Regions from separate parts of the Homo sapiens genome. Here region 1 is linked to region 2. The links are contacts of gene promoters, found by promoter capture Hi-C in blood cells and fetal thymus (Javierre and others, 2016). All regions are on one chromosome and are shown on one strand. Each heading gives the region's core, a stretch centred on a gene start or on the middle of the fragment in contact. The rest is flanking DNA. Distances are from core to core; before and after follow the strand shown.

Region 1 (5,347 bases), core at 2,824-5,323, 510 kb after region 2:
TTTCTTTTCTTGTTTTTTTTGAGATGGAGTTTTGCTCTGTCACCTAGGTTGGCGTGGTGGCGCGATCTCGGTTCACTGCAACCTCCGCCTCCTGGGTTCAAGCGATTCTACTGTCTCAGCCTCCCAAGTAGCTGGGATTATACGCATGCGCCACCATAACCAGCTAATTTTTGTATTTTTAATAGAGATGGGGTTTTGCCATGTTGGCCAGGCTGGTCTCGAACTCCTGACCTCAGGTGATCCGCCCACCTTGGTCTCCCAAAGGGCTGGGATTACAGGCATGAACCACTGTGCCCAGCCAATCTTTTTACCTGGCCACCCCAGCTTTGCTACATTTATCTTGACATTCTAATTTACCTATAAAAATAGCCTCTACTAGGAAGCCAAGGTGAGCAGATCACTTGAGGTCAGGAGTTCAAGACCAGCCTGGCCAACATGACAAAACCCTGTCTCTACTTAAAAAAAAAAAAAAAAAAAAAAAAAAATTAGCCAGGTGGCTACTCAGGAGGCTGAGGTAGGAGGATCGCTTGAACCCGGGAGGCCGAGGTTGCAGTGAGCTGAGATTGCGCCACTGTACTCCAGCCTGGGCGATAAAGCTAGACTCTGTCTCAAAAAAAAAAAAAAAAAAAAGGAAAAATAACTTATAAAGCAGTAGTGAGTATTACACTCAACCATTAGCCTCATTCCAAATTCTCTTAGGATGTTTATTGATGATATAGATGATAAATACACATACAGTTGTGATCAGTATCCATATACTTCTTCTTTTCTCTTAACCTTATTTTTCCATACATACTTTTCACTTTGTTTCCTACATACATTATTTTGAGTTTACCTATTTGTCATAGTTGGTAGCTACAAAGTATTCCATTTTAATTATCTATGTTGAGGTTTTTTTTTTAATCAACCAATTCTAATATTCACAGGAAGCACAATTTCTCCATATCCGTCTTTAATAGGTCAGTATGGACCATTTGTTTCATTCCTGCTTCTTCCTCAAAGTTGCAACTCTACTATTTTCACCAGCTGTGTCAAAACAGGGTTTGTGAAGTGACAGGTTGAAATATGTGGATCATTTGAAGTAATTTCTTTTCTTTACCAAATTAAACAATGACTGTATGCCTTGTTTCATCTTTTGTTGTTCATCTGTATAGGGCTCTTTTCACTCTTTTATTTTTAAAATTCTATTTTTTATTTTTATTTTTTGAGAGGGGGTCTTGCTCTGTCACCCAGGCTGGAGTGCAGTGGCGTGATCTGGGCTCACTGCAACCTCTGCCTCCCAGATTCAAGCGATTCTCCTGCCTCAGCCTCCTGAGTAGCTGGGATTACAGGCGTGCACCACCACGCTGGGCTAATTTTTGTATTTTTAGTAGAGACAGGGTTTCACCATATTGACCAGGCTGGTCTCAAGCTCCTGACCTCAGGTGATCCACCCGCCTCCGCCTCCCAAAGTGCTGGGATTAAGAGGTATGAGCCACCACGCCTGGCCCTAAACTTCTATTTTTAAAGAGACATGGTCTCTCGAACCCTTGAGCTCAAGGGATCCTACTGCCTCAGTCTCCCAAGTAGCTGGTGCTACAGGCGTGCACCACCACACTCCAGCTCATCATTCTGTCATTATACTTCAGTTATTTCATGTGTCAGTGACTGAAAGTGAACGTATGATAATCTTGTGAACACAGGGCTTCACAGTGGAAAGAAAACTACATTCTATACCTCATTCCTTCTTCAATACAAGCATCTGCAGGAAAAGGGGAAAAAAGAGGCGGGACCATCTATTATTCAACAAATTTCAACTTCACCCTGCCCATCTGGATCTAGTCTCCCTCATTAAATGCAAAGGATGCTGCCACCTGGCTCCTCTCCCTAGCAGTATTCACATCATCTAGGCTAGAAAATCCCTTCCCTTTGGCCTGTTTTGCACAAAACCGAGTAAACATTTTCAAAGTATATATACGCAAAATCATTTGCTATCTCTTTACTATGTATGATGCGCATAGGTGTTACTGAATATTTTGGAGCCTTGATGGATAAAGTATGGGATGTTGAGGATCGGGGAATGTATCTAAACTTTCAAGTTGTGTCCTATTCAAAAAACTCCCTTCTAAAAGCATTTTTACGGTATGTAGGGTTTTAATGTAACAAAATCTCTACTTAATAACAGCGGATCCCCTTTTATTATCTTTGTGCCTACCTGGATGCACGGTTCCAGCATGTTCTCGTCACGAACCACAAGCCCACCAGAGGGCGCTGGTTCCCCGTCTACCTACTGTTCTCCATCAGCGACTCAGAAAATCCAGGTTAAACACTCAGGCAGTCTTTCACATTTAATCCACAAATATTTACCGAGAATTTGACGTGCCACCAGGCGCGGGGCTAGGTTCACAAGATACAGTAGTGAGTTAGGCACGATTCCTACTACCAGAAGCTTAGAGCATAGGGAAGACTAAAAGTAAGCCACCGTCTACAATAGTAGGATAAGTGGAGAGTTTCTAGGTCCGTGGAGTTTGTTGTTGAATATCTGCTCCAGGCCTTAGAAGCCGGCAGCAATTCACTAAAAGATCCCGGACTTGTCTGCTCTGTATCCCAGCCAAGGAGCTCCGTCCCCAAGGTGTTTTGTTAGAGTCAGAGACCTCTCCTTGGGTGATTCCATTCGTCAGCCCCACAAGTCCCCGTCTCTGGCCTTTTTCAGGGTCTCCGGCAGCTCTCTGACAGTTCCCCTTCTGTCTCAGGTCGACACTTATTCCAAGGACCAGGGATTACTCACAACTATCCGCCAGAGTTTGCTCCGCCCTTTCTTTTTCCTGTTTAAAATCCGCGGGCTCTTAGTGTTCTCGGTTCCTAGATTTCCTGTTCTGATTCTCGCGACAGTTGCGAGGCCTCGCGTGAAGTTCCCTTCTAGTCCCTATTTCGAATTTGAGACCGGGAGAGAGTGTCTGCCCTTGCCCACCTCCTCAGAACCCCTCTGGCCAGGGATGGCGCCTACGTGGCTCGGGAGCCCCTGAATGAATGGGCTTGGCCCAACTTAGGGGCGCATTCCGACGGGAGAGTCCTGGCTGTATTCCGAGGCTCCAGTGCGCATGCGGAGTCGATCCCGCGCAGGCGGGCGGGGACGGCAGCCGGGTCTTGTGGGCGGAGCCTGACTAAGTGCCGCCCCCTTGCCGGCTGCAGATTGCTATTTCTGCCCCCCACCCTCGCCCATCCCCCCGCGAGCTGGACTGCGCCAAGGCTTCTGTGAGCCGCTTGGGGCCGGCCGGGGCGGGGCCTGCCCGACCCGGGTTTGGCTGGCGGGCCCCTAGGAATGCTCTCCTCCCCGCCCCCGGCCCAAAGTGCCACGGTGGCGGTGGTGGCGGCCGCGAGGCCGAGTGTCTCCGGCCCTGCCAGCCTCGCAACCGTAACCTGTAATCCCGACCCGAGGGACGCCCGCCGGGGAGGCGCCAGCCCGCCTCTCCCTGCGGCCGCTGGTCGGCTCCGACCTCGAATCACCCGGCTCACCCGCGGGTCGCAGCACCTGCCGGATGTGGGGAGGAAGAAGGAGGCCAGATGAGGGAAGGCGGATGTAGGCGCCCAGTCTGTCCGCGCCTTGGTGGGGCAGCTGGGTGGGCAAGCCTGCGGTCGCTCCCGGGAACCAGCCCTGGGCTGCGGGGAGACGAAGGTGGTTGGTCCTGCCCTCCAGGAGCGCCCCGACATCGACGTAAAATGACTTGGCACCAGAGCTCCTGCCGCCTCCCCCTTATGCAGCTGCCCTCGCCGACGCCAGGGACTGTAAAATCAGATGGGACAGGGCCTAGCCGTTCAGCCAACACTTTGAGCTTCCCAGCCAAACTCCTACCCCCACTCCCCGCCTCCGGTCCTCACCCCCTTCCTCTCTCCCAGCCTCGGTGTCTGGTTACGGCTCCTCTGCTCGCATTGTGACTTTGGGCCAGGCTGGGGGAAATGACCCGGGAGGGTCCCATGCGGCTACATAAAATTGGCAGCCTTAGAACTAGTGGGAAGGCGGGTGCGCGAAGTCGAGGGGCGGAGAGAGGGGGCCGGAGGAGCTGCTTTCTGAATCCAAGTTCGTGGGCTCTCTCAGAAGTCCTCAGGACGGAGCAGAGGTGGCCGGCGGGCCCGGCTGACTGCGCCTCTGCTTTCTTTCCATAACCTTTTCTTTCGGACTCGAATCACGGCTGCTGCGAAGGGTCTAGTTCCGGACACTAGGTGAGCACTCTGTGCCCCAGGCCATAAGCGAGGCGGCATCAGCCCCCCCAGTTCTCACCCCCCATTAGCAGCTTCTTACTTCTGGAGCCACCCATTCTCTTTGGGCAAGGATGCTCAGGGGCCAGGGATCGGAGTCGGGTGGTGCACGGAAGTGGTGCTGGTGGTGGGTGTGCGTGCGCCTGAGCCTTATCACCCTTTCCTCACCTCTCTTCACTCCCAGCCCTCCCAAGAACAGCCCAACTGATTGCTAACTGCCATAACTGGATAATCCCTAGAGGGTCACTAGGCCTGTGTGTTGGGGGAGGCTACTTGGTAGCAGGGGAGGGGGCGATGCTAGTGTCATGCTTTGGTACAAGAAGCAGTGAGGTTGGTCTTTCGGCACAGGCCCTGTTTCTGACCTCCTGACCTGGCTTCCCTTCCTGGCAGGGTGCCCGAACGCGCTGATGCCCCGAGTGCTCGCAGGGCTTCCCGCTAACCATGCTGCCGCCGCCGCGGCCCGCAGCTGCCTTGGCGCTGCCTGTGCTCCTGCTACTGCTGGTGGTGCTGACGCCGCCCCCGACCGGCGCAAGGCCATCCCCAGGCCCAGATTACCTGCGGCGCGGCTGGATGCGGCTGCTAGCGGAGGGCGAGGGCTGCGCTCCCTGCCGGCCAGAAGAGTGCGCCGCGCCGCGGGGCTGCCTGGCGGGCAGGGTGCGCGACGCGTGCGGCTGCTGCTGGGAATGCGCCAACCTCGAGGGCCAGCTCTGCGACCTGGACCCCAGTGCTCACTTCTACGGGCACTGCGGCGAGCAGCTTGAGTGCCGGCTGGACACAGGCGGCGACCTGAGCCGCGGAGAGGTGCCGGAACCTCTGTGTGCCTGTCGTTCGCAGAGTCCGCTCTGCGGGTCCGACGGTCACACCTACTCCCAGATCTGCCGCCTGCAGGAGGCGGCCCGCGCTCGGCCCGATGCCAACCTCACTGTGGCACACCCGGGGCCCTGCGAATCGGGTACGCATGGCCCGGGGCCCCCACCCCAGCACTTAGGTTTCCTAGAGGCACTGCTCCCCGACCCCTGACAGCATTGGTCTCTGGCCAGCAGAGCAAAAAAGATAAGGCTATAGAGGCCTCGAGTCCAGTATAAAACCCTGCTCTCGCTACTGGTTCATA
Region 2 (5,094 bases), core at 1,968-4,467:
GTTTTGACATGTGTTTGCCATTTGTGGAAAATGTTTTTGTAATAGTCAACACCCCTCATAGCCCACCTGTGACAAGTACTTGTTACATTCCAGCACTGTAGGGCGTGAGGAAAATCTGGTCCTTATCAAATCCCAGGAGCTTCTGCTTAGTTGGGGAAGAAATTACATGAAGCAACCAGAGGTTATAAGGCCACACTTGTATATCGTGCACCCTGTGTGGACAAGATTAGGGACTGTTGAGAGAGGAGGAAACCAGTAGAGAGCAAAGCTCTACCCAGGCTCCTTGTAAGCCTCTGGGCTCCCCCGAGAGGGCCTCGCTACTCTACGCTTCCTAGCAACGTTGATGTCCCCACAACCCCACATCAGTGCAGCTGTGGCTGTGTGGAGGGGCTCTGAGGCCTCTGAGGCCAGATGTGTAAACAGTGCTGAGGTTCAGTAATAGGATGAGTCTTCAGGTGTGGAGCAGCCCACCTTGGCTCTTCCCATGTCTCTGTGTTACTTCTCATATTCTGCTGTCCTTTCAAACTTCAAGGACAGTATTAATTTATACTAGTATTTCTTCCTCAGTTTTGTGACTTGAATGCAGTGAGTGCCTTAGAGGATCCAAGGATGAAGGAATGCGGGTTGGTGGTTCTCTCTTTCAGAATGGGAACTTCCCAAAAATGGGGCTGCGTCTCGCCTCTCAGTAGGTTCCCTACCTCTGGGTCTTCCACCCTTCAAAATCTGGTACAGAATTTAGCAGGGGCTGCAGGGAATGACCCTCAGGGACCAGTTTCACCCAGATGGGGTAGATGATGAGGTATACCTAGAAGTAGCTCAGGGCTCCAGAGTCTGGCCTTTCAGCTGGTGTCTTACTCCCCTTTGAGACCTTCAGCTGCTTGTCTTCCACTGCCTGCATACTTCTCTGATGTCTTCTCAAACTGTTGGCTCTAAAGGGATGTTCCAGCCTCCCTCTCCAGAGCTGCCTGCAGTTTCCCTTATTCAGCTGTCTCCTGCCTAGTCTCTCCAGCGGCCTCCTTACCAAGACCCTTTTTCCTAAACAGTTGTCCTTCCCTCAGAAACTCCATGGCTGCAAGTGTGAATAGACTTGTCTTTAGGATCCCTCTCTCTGGTCATCCCTGATCATCTTAGGGCCGTCTCCCTTTTCTGATTTTTGACAGCTCTGTTTATTTTGCCCATGGCTAGTCCTCTTGTTTTGTGTCTGCTGTGTGTTCTTGCCCTTCCATTGTCAGTTCTGTACATCCTGGTTCAGCTTGTCTCACTGTGGTAGCCCCTTCTGCTTGTCTTCAGCCATCTTGGTTTAATCCTCATAGGTCATGGATGAATGGAGCCTTGCTGAGCACTTTGAGGGCATTTCTGTTGGGCACAACCTCAGAAACGGGAAGTCTTGAGGCCTGGGGGCGTGTGGTCAGTGAGGCCTCCAGAGGTGGGTTAGGGGTGGGCACCTACAAGGGCCAGTTGAGGGGAGAGGTGCAGGGATTGCTGAGGAGACTTTGTGAGAATGATGTCAGGCCCGGGAAGCTGGTGTGGAAGAACTGAGCTGTCAGAAGGAGATACCAATATCCCCTTTGCAGGGTGGTGATGGGCATCAAACATGACGTGGAACATGTCCCCTTCATGGAGGGTTTCCATCTAAATGCATCTGTGTGCCTTAGGGATCAGTAGTTCAGGGGTGGTGGACTTTTTTGAGTGTCTCCTAATTTCTCTGAGGTGTCTTTGGCTCTGTGTCACCAAATGTGCCTGACCTCTGCATCCCAGTGGTTGCTGAAAGGGAAACAGTATATTGCGTAGTCAGATGTCAGGAGTAGAGATCTTAATGAGAAAGGCCCTGGCAGCTGGAGAGATGAGAGGACCTAGTGGTCAGCTTATACCCAGACTATCTCTCCACTCCTCCAAGAGTTTGAGTCCCATAGCTGATGAAAGAATTTACATATGGGCTCCCCCCTGCTTTCCCACTGAAAATCTATTCTCATATTTTGGGAAGGAGCATATGTCCTTTAACTTTCAATGGTAAACAATCTAGGATAGTGTTTAAAGGCATGGATTTTGGAGTCACATATAGTTGGTTTGAATTTCTAGCTTCACTACTTACCAGCTGGGTTTGACCTTGGTTGATTTACTTAACCTCTCTGAGCCTCAGTTTCCTCAACTATAATAACATGGGTGGAGGGAGGCATGTTGAAAATATCTACCTCAGGGTTGTTGGAATAACTGAAACAATGTTTGTAAAGCTTTAGCACAGTGCCTGGCAAGCACTTAATAAATGGCTGTGGTGGTGGTGGTTATATTTATTATGTGATTTATTCAGAAACTTGGTTTCAGTGATCTCTAAACAGATTTCCAGTGGTTCTTTCTCTCTCAAGAAAAGCATAGGGAAAAACGAGAAACACCTTAGATAAACCATATTGAGTTGAGGGTAGACAGAAGAGTCTAGTACCTAAACTCACCCTAGAGGAAGAGAAACAGGAAGTGTCTTATGCCTCTTCTGCCTGGGCAGCCAGACTTTACTGCTGTACTACCAGCCCAGGGCCTTGGGTGAGAAGGTTTCAGGTCTGAGCTCCCCTTGCACTGTGTGAGAGGCCGTGGAGCCGAATGAGTCCTTATTATACCTGGAGAAGCTGTTGTCTCCTCACACCATGAAATGTAATAGCAGTCAAATCAGGCCCCTCTTGATTCAATTTTAGTCCATGCCTTTCCATGTATTTAAATTATATAAGTGTTGGCCAGGTGTGGTGGCTCACACCTGTAATCCCAGCACTTCGGGAGGCTGAGGCAGGAGGATCACTTGAGCCCAGGAGTTCGAACCAACCTTGGGCAGCATAGTGAGACCCCTTCTCTTAATAATTTTTTTTGAAAATAATTTTTTAAAAATTACAAATATGGACCAGACACCTGGGAGGATTACCTCACGCCTGTAATCCCAGCACTTTGGGAGGCTGAGGTGGGTGGATCACCTGAGGTCAGGAGTTTGAGACTATCCTGGCCAACATGGTGAAACCCTGTCTCTACTAAAAATACAAAAATTAGCCAGATGTGGTGGTGGGTACCTGTAATCCCAGCTACTCGGGAGGCTGAGACAGGAGAATCACTTGAACCTGGGAGGCGGAGGTTGCAGTGAGCTGAGATCACGTCATTGCACTCCAGCCTGGGTGACTACAGTGAGACTCCCTCTCAAAAAAAAAAAAAAAAAATTATGAGTATGTTAAGATTGTTCTAGGGGAGAAGGGCAATCAAAATTCAGAAAAATATGAGTGGGATGTTAATAGCTACCATTTGTTGAACACTTCTGTTCCAGGCACTGTATTAGTTCGTCCCCATGTGGTGCTCTCAGATCAGTAGGGGAGACAGGCAGGCAGTTAGAATTATGGTGTATAGAGGAGAAGCATTGCACTATGTCCAGTTTTTTATGGTAGGCTTCCTGCAGAAAGTGATAAGTCCAAGCTGATATGTGGAAGATGAATAATTAACCAGAGGTTGGGGGATTTCCCCCTTAGCTTCTCTTTCTTCCAGTCCAGCAGTCCAAAACAAACACTGCTTCCCAATGCCTAAGGGTTTTGTCGTACCTTACTCCAGGGAATGGGTGAGACAGTAGATCCCAAGAAGAAAACCCTTTGGTTAGTCACAGAAATCTGAAAGTCTTGGTTGCTGGCTCAGATTTGTCCTGGAGTGGACGTAGATTGGACTTGCTTATTTGTAGCCCTCCACCGTTCTCATTTGTGTTCTGGCCTCTGGAGCCACCCTGCCAGACCCTACTTGGAAGAAATGTTGAATCAAGCTACTCAGACTTCAGCCTGAGATGTATTATGGCTGGCTGGAATTCTCAGCCCTTTCCACATCATGATCCCATTAATCTCTTGGGTCTATCCCCACGCCCAGCCACCTCTCCTCCTCACTATAAGCCAAGTCTCCCTGCAGTTCTCTATAAATACTCAGATCCTCTTGCCTCAGACCCTGGTCCCTAGCTTTGTGGGTGAAGAAGATACCTCTTTAGCTTGTGCCAACCCATCCCTCTGGGCTACAGGCCATTCTGTAGTCACCTTGCAGTCACGTCTTTCCTTCTAGATAACTGGCTCTGGGCCTTGGAAACCTTCTCTTTGGCTCTAGCTAATTTTGCTGTTTTATTCCGTTTACTTAAAACCTATTCACTTGGTCATTGAGGTCAGAACTATCAGGAAAGCTGTGCTCCTTAACCCATCATCTAAGCTAAGCTTGGGCCAGGTTTTTATTACCTCTTGAATATATATAGTGCAATATAGTGTAGTGGTTGAGAGTGGAGTCTGCATACCTGGATCTGCCATTCTGCATGACTTTGGGCAAATGGACAAACTGCCCGAAACTTGACTTGTTTATATGTATGGGGAAGACATCATTTACATTGTCAGGGTAAGGCTTAGCAGAATGACCGGTCCATAGCAAGGGCTCAGTCTTTCTGTGTCTCTCAGTCTTTACCTCTCTTCCCCATCTAGCTTTCTGTCTAAGTTCCTGTTTCTAGTCTCAGGGCATATCTAGTTGTCAGCTCCTGAGCAGAGCAGAGGTATAAGTGTCAACTCATGCTTGTGTTACCAGTTCCTACCCCTGTCAGTAACCTCTGATGCTTACAAGGATACTATCACCTATGCCATCAGTGGGGAATGACCTTCCAAAAATATTTTTAACAATACTAAAAATACCTGAAACATACTGGGTGAAAATAAGACATTGGAGCTGCTGCTCCCCAAGGAGATAAAAGGACAGTTCCTAAAGAGGCATTGAAGGTTTGTATGAGCCAGCAGCACAGTCAGAAGGCAAGAAGGAGACCCTGGGATGTGCACAAGGATGCAGGAGACGAGATTGTCACAGAGGCTGTCATGCTAGTAAGAGTCAGAGGTTACTGATGGGTAGAGATTGTCAGAGTCTGCCTTGCTAGTCTAGAGGTAGGACCATGGATTTAAGAACGTTGCCTCCAAGTTTTTGAATTGTGAATTTTTGATCATATTTGAACAAAACCCCACCTACAGTCTGCATGGTCATTGTTCTCACAAGGGTTTGTGTGATGCACTGACAAGAACAGAGGCTTTGGAGGTGACTCCTGGGTTTGAATCACCATTTGCCACT

What was found. Contacts are between HindIII fragments. The CHiCAGO score rates a contact against its expected background, and 5 or more counts as called.
Region 1: the fragment with the promoter of KAZALD1 here is called in contact with a fragment that was not itself captured in region 2 in 1 of 17 cell types (naive CD4 T cells); the score reaches 5.9 in naive CD4 T cells.

Annotation. Positions count from the first base shown.
Region 1 is chr10:101,057,916-101,063,262 of GRCh38, forward strand. KAZALD1 (Kazal type serine peptidase inhibitor domain 1) reads left to right here and starts at 4,074. Exons shown (of 5, transcript NM_030929.5): 1 at 4,074-4,200; 2 at 4,627-5,188. The coding sequence starts at 4,678. It overlaps LOC107984262 (a long non-coding RNA gene), which reads right to left and starts at 2,836. Exons shown (of 2, transcript XR_001747569.3): 1 at 2,195-2,836; 2 at 680-1,741. RefSeq lists enhancers at 2,717-3,011, 3,938-4,826 and silencers at 3,139-3,558, 4,739-4,788. The HindIII fragment of the contact is 11,916 bases long and covers 2,427-5,347 here.
Region 2 is chr10:100,551,634-100,556,727 of GRCh38, forward strand. HIF1AN (hypoxia inducible factor 1 subunit alpha inhibitor) reads left to right here. Exons shown (of 8, transcript NM_017902.3): 8 at 1-5,094. Among named protein-coding and RNA genes, the nearest start is that of HIF1AN, 18 kb to the left of the region's middle. The HindIII fragment of the contact is 1,977 bases long and covers 2,230-4,206 here.